Linked DNA regions of Homo sapiens: region 2 is linked to region 1. The links are contacts of gene promoters, found by promoter capture Hi-C in blood cells and fetal thymus (Javierre and others, 2016). All regions are on one chromosome and are shown on one strand. Each heading gives the region's core, a stretch centred on a gene start or on the middle of the fragment in contact. The rest is flanking DNA. Distances are from core to core; before and after follow the strand shown.

Region 1 (2,700 bases), core at 87-2,586:
TTGTCCATTGCTGTAGCACCAGCACCTAGAACAGTGCCTTGTTCACAGCAAGCACTCAAGCACATTAACTAAGAGAATAAAAAGGGATGTATTTTAGGCCGTCTTGGGAAGACAGAAAAATAAGTAACAAAGCAGTCAATACATATGTTAAGTAAATGGCCACAAAATTTAATAAATGCCTTCTGATAAGCATAACAATTTCTATCATACACACCCTAACTCAAAATTATGTCACCCGAAGATGATTCTCTTCAATGTTCTGGAAGTTAAATATCGACCAACAAAGTCACTTTATAGGACAGTGGGGAAATATGTCAAAACTTCACACACATCTTCTACGAGTCAGTAAAAAAGATGAAAAAGTGGTAACTGCAGGTGGTAAAACTTCGACAGGATCAGCATATACTTGACAGGAAATGCAGCATCTCATACCACTCAGTACAAAGAAAATGTCTGCCTTCCCTGACTTTAAAAAAGAGTAGCTATGTAAAAACTTAACTGACGAAAACAGAAACTGAAAGTAAAAATGTCTACAGCATATATATGTACAACTTAATATTGTGAACATTTTCATACCACAAAAGTTTTTTAAAACTTGCTTTAAACTTTTAAAAAGTCAGAAAAAATTTTGGTCAATTGGAATCGGCATGATGAGAAATCTCTTGAAAACCATTCTAAATTCCAGTTCCTATAAAATCAGACTCCAGACAATATATCCAGCCAAAGCTACGACTGCCTTCGCGCTTCTGAAGAAACTATACACCGCAGCATGCCCTACTACAAACCAGTTGCTTTTTCTTCCAGGAAGCACGTTTAACTTTTTGTTTGTTTGTTCAAGGCAGTCATACTAGGCACGAAAAGATGAACGGAGCAAAGAGTGACCCTTGGCCTTCTCCGGGTTCAAGGTAGGAGTTCCGGCTCCTCACGCCTTCTTTACCAAGCACCAGCCGGAGCTTCTCGCTTCCGCACCGAGTTAGGACCCAGGGGTGACTCAGCGGTAGGACAAGTGCCGCCGATGTGGTCTAGCTTGGGGAAGGACGGCGGGCGCCTGAGGAGGGCATAACATCCCCAGGTCCGGCCAGTCTCGGGTTCCTGGGGAGCCCCATGACACGGCAGAACCCAGGCCGCGCGGCCAGGTCCCGGGCCTGCCCACCCATAATTCCCACCCGACGTCCCCCAGCTGCACGGACCTGTCGTACTCAGACCGGGTAAGAAACATGGCGAGGGTAGGAGGAGGCAGCGGCTACGCGGGGATTCTGAGGACCAACACGACTCCACCGGCACCCAACTCACCGGCAGCCAACTCACCCACACGGCCGCAGTACTAAGGACCAACTGCGCGTGCGACCGCGACCTCTTTAGCCCGCCCTCCTGTGCCTGCTTCCTATTGGCTGGTAGTAGTTCCCGCCTAGGTGATTGGGCCAACGCGCTTCCTCACGAGGGCTTGGTTGGTCCGGAGGAGGAGGAGGACCAGGGAGGTACTTCCGCCTTAAATCGCGGGTGGTTGCTAGGGACGATAGGCACCCAAGGCGTGTAGTGAGTTCGCCTTGTAGAGAAGATGTGAGCCCGCCCCAAGACTGGCAATTGGAAAGGCTTGCATGCAGAGCTGGGTTGTCTGAACCCTGACATAATAGGTCCCTCGCCGGCTCCCGTAATCCCAGCTAGAGGACTTTGGTCCCGTTTCCGGCAAGGCCACCACCTGACTTCTCTTCGCAGGATTCCCTCTCTTAGGGTTCCTCCACGGTGTTCTCCATGCCCGGTCGAGGGCTCCAGGACTTTGGGCGGTAATGAGTCGGCTACAGTGGGTCTGAGCCGGCGCCGCGGACGAGTCCCTTCGTTTCAGCCAGTTTGGCTCGTTTATTGAGAAAAGTGGGGGGCGAGGGGTTAGTATGTAAGAAAGTCTTAAAGTTTCCACATGGTTAAGGTAATTTTATCAACTCTTTCTTGCACCCCTCCCCCTAGTACAGGTTTCAGACCTAAATAACCTAGAGTTCAGGATCCAGACTTCAAAATATTCACTGCTTTTTCTGTTGTTTGTGAAAAATAAGTGTTTTCTTTGAGCCCAGATCGTGCTATTGCACTCCAGCCTGGGCAACAGCCAAACCCTATCCGAAAAAAAAAAAAAAAAAAAAAGCGCTTTCTTTTTCGACGCTTCTTGCTTCCCTTCAATAAGTTGCTTGAGGAGCAACTTTGCAGCTTCGTAATAACACTGTAATTCAAGTATTTGTTCAAGAAAGGCAAGTAAGAAGTCTTGGCACGGGGGTGGGGAATATAGGGAAATGTTGGTCAAATGATACAAAGTTTCAGTCAGAGAAGGTGGATGAGTTCTATAGTTAATAATCATATATTGTGTACTTGAAATTGTGAAGAGGGTACACCTTAAATGTTCTCACCACAGGAAAGTATGTGAGATGATGGATTATGTTGATTAGCTTCATTTAATTATTTGCAGTGTGTGTGTGTATATATATGTATATCAAAACGTCACGTTGTATACCATAAACATGAACAATTTCTATTTGTCACTTACACCTTAAAGCTGGAGTCGGGGGAAAGAAATCATTTATCAGGCAGTATATGCTGGAAAGGGAAATGCCAGCATCTCATTTCCAGTTGTTAATGTGATACCACTAGTCAAGTCCTTAACCTCTCAAGGCCTGTATCTCTCCAGTAAAGTTCATTCTTGGTCCTAGATTAGGT
Region 2 (2,700 bases), core at 3-2,502, 330 kb before region 1:
AACCTCATAGGTAGGCTGCTGCTTACACACAGCAGCCGCCACGGCGCAAAATAAACTACAAAACTACAAGCCTTTACCTTTTCAAACACACTGACGCGGGCCAGCCCCAGCCCTACGCCCGCAGGGGCACGCAGAAAAGACTTAGTTACCACGGCCAAGTACGAAGCCTTCGAGATAGCGTTCTTCTTACCCTACGTAAACACGCAGTTTCCCGAGCTCGACAATCGGCTAGCCACTCCTGATAGCGTTCGGCGCTCGCCTCTCGGCCCTTGCTCCTGCGTACTACGGCTTCTTCCAGTCACCTCGGCCCGGATCGGGAAGTGTCAAGCGGGCGCTCCCCCATCTCCGCCGCTATTACCACTGAACCCGGACCCCCTACCCAGGTCCAGGGCCAGCCGCCATGACGAACGGTGAGAACTGATGCCCTGAGCGGAGGGTGGGAGTGAAGGACGAAGGGAAAACGTGGCGGGCGGGGCCGGGACTGACGTGGCCGTTCTCCCCGCCCCCTCCCAGCCCGGCCCCCCTTGGCCTCTCGACGCCCCTAACTTCTGTACCCCTATACTCCTCTACGGGTTCCCCCTTCCCATATTCATCTAGGACCCCCAGTGCCTCTTATGCTCACACCTCGAGTTATCTATCCCTATGCTTTGCTTTCCCTTTTCTTTTTCTTAGTTCTTTCTGGCCCTTGGAGAGGTCAGTCCCAGAGGTACTACTGCTATTTAAACCCGGGGAAGAGAGAGGCTCCTCCTCCCAGCTCCCTGCGTTCTCATGCTTTCGGACCGTAGTTTTGTTGAGAGGGCCAATAAATGACATAGAATATCAAGTCCCACACTTTTGGGGTTGCTGGTGAATGTAGACCCCACAAAAGCTTCTTCTTACGGAAAAATACCGGAAAGATTTCTGATTTTAAAGTCCTGGCGGGGTGATCCCACGTGGAGACCCTGACTAGTGTTGCAAAGGGTGGATTTAGACACTGCCTCTTCTAGATGATGAGGCAGTTTATCTGACCTAATTTTCCAGGCCTCTTCAAACACTTTATGAATTCTGAATTCCAGAGGAGGACAGGAAGGAGGGCCTTCATGATTTTTAGTGTCAACCTTACAGGAAAGGAGAAGAGAAAGCCTTTTAGGCATTACGATGATTTGAGGGGCTCCGGAAAGCATTTCTCAAAAGTACTTTGTCCATAGACCTGGCACTGAAGACTCGAATTTAACCTCCTTGTGAATTTTGGCATTGTCTGCAGAAACTTATGAGAGAAAAGGGGTAGCACGTGAAGGTATAGTTCCTCAGAAAACCTTAGTGTATGTATTAATTTGCTGGACCCTTTCTTAGTGACAGCTTAGCTGTGAGACAGTTTTACTGGAGGAAGAGAGGTAGTGTGATCTAGAACTGGCAGACACTGGTTATATATAATATTCATTTGGAGCTTCCTGGGAAGTCAGAGGTCTCAGGATACTAGGCACAGTAAGAAAAGGGAATTTACCCAGAGGAAGACAGAATCTGAACCAGGAAGTAAGACAGCAGTTTGACACGGTAGTTGCTGAATAAATTTTAGTCATTCTTCCCCCATTTTGTGGTCCAATATCTTCTTGTTTTTTGCAATTAGGTGATTCATTGTGCTTCCCTGTACAAGAAATAAGCTTGGTTTATGTATTTAAGAAACAGAGCTAAGAAGTTAAAGCTTTCTATGTTGAAGCCTTAGATACTTTTTCTTTGTTTTAGAAAAATCTGTTATTATTCTGGCAGAAATTCGGTTTGTTAAGAGTATCATCCATAAAGTGTAAGATAATGATAGGAAAATTGTAGTCATGTGGATTCTTACTCTTGCAACTTTCATTAAGCTTAATTTTTTGCCTTAACATATTCTTCACCAACAGTTGCACATCTGACAGTTTTGGCTACATATCTAGCTCTCCTTTATCATATGAGTGATTTATAACAAGAACATGTTAAATTCTCTGTGCTGAGTCTCTAAGGATTCATATGTCTCAATCTATTGCCAACACTAGTCATTCCTGGGATGCTAATTTCTGCCCAGGATTTCTACTTCTTGAAAGGTGAGGGGAAGGACCAGTGACATTTTAGTAAAGGGGATGTAAAAAAAAAAATTTTTTTTTGAGTTGGGGTCTCACTCTGTTGCTCAGGCTACAGTGCAGTGGCATGATCGTAGTTCATTGCAGCCTCGAACTCCTGGGCTCAATTGATCCCCCTTCCTCCTACAAGCAATTTTTGGGAACAGTAAAATAATCGTGTTAGTCCCAGGATCCTGGCTCCCCCTTGTCAAGTGTCAGTACTGCCTGTTGAGGTTATTATTTTGTTATTATGTCACACACTATCTTCCTTAGAGTTCTCAGGCGGGATCACAGGTCCGACGCTAGATCAGTACCTAAGGTTTTCTTTTCTTCTTTATTTAACAGTGTACTCCTTGGATGGGATTCTGGTGTTTGGTTTGCTCTTTGTTTGCACCTGTGCCTACTTCAAGAAAGTACCTCGTCTCAAAACCTGGCTGCTATCAGAGAAGAAGGGTGTTTGGGGTGTGTTTTACAAAGGTGAGGCCATGTCTGGACAGGGAGAAGAGACTGCCATCTCTGGACAGTGTGGAGCTACAAAGTAGGGAGTACAGTGAGCTGGGATTATATTTGGTTTCATTTTTAGAAAAAAATCCCTCCGATTGGGTCTGAGAGTCTGGAAAATTAATCA

Evidence for each region. The method cuts DNA at HindIII sites, captures the fragments that hold promoters and counts their contacts. A CHiCAGO score of 5 or more calls a contact.
Region 2: a contact is called between a fragment that was not itself captured here and the fragment with the promoter of PSMA5 in region 1, in 1 of 17 cell types (fetal thymus). The highest score is 6.0, in fetal thymus.

The regions. Positions count from the first base shown.
Region 1 is chr1:109,425,112-109,427,811 of GRCh38, forward strand. It overlaps PSMA5 (proteasome 20S subunit alpha 5), which reads right to left and starts at 1,337. Exons shown (of 9, transcript NM_002790.4): 1 at 1,191-1,337. The coding sequence starts at 1,219. RefSeq lists enhancers at 1,400-2,331, 1,838-1,897. The HindIII fragment of the contact is 5,034 bases long and covers 1-2,700 here.
Region 2 is chr1:109,090,473-109,093,172 of GRCh38, forward strand. TMEM167B (transmembrane protein 167B) reads left to right here and starts at 292. Exons shown (of 3, transcript NM_020141.4): 1 at 292-410; 2 at 2,418-2,549. The coding sequence starts at 401. It also overlaps the pseudogene NDUFB3P1. RefSeq lists an enhancer at 1-125. The HindIII fragment of the contact is 772 bases long and covers 867-1,638 here.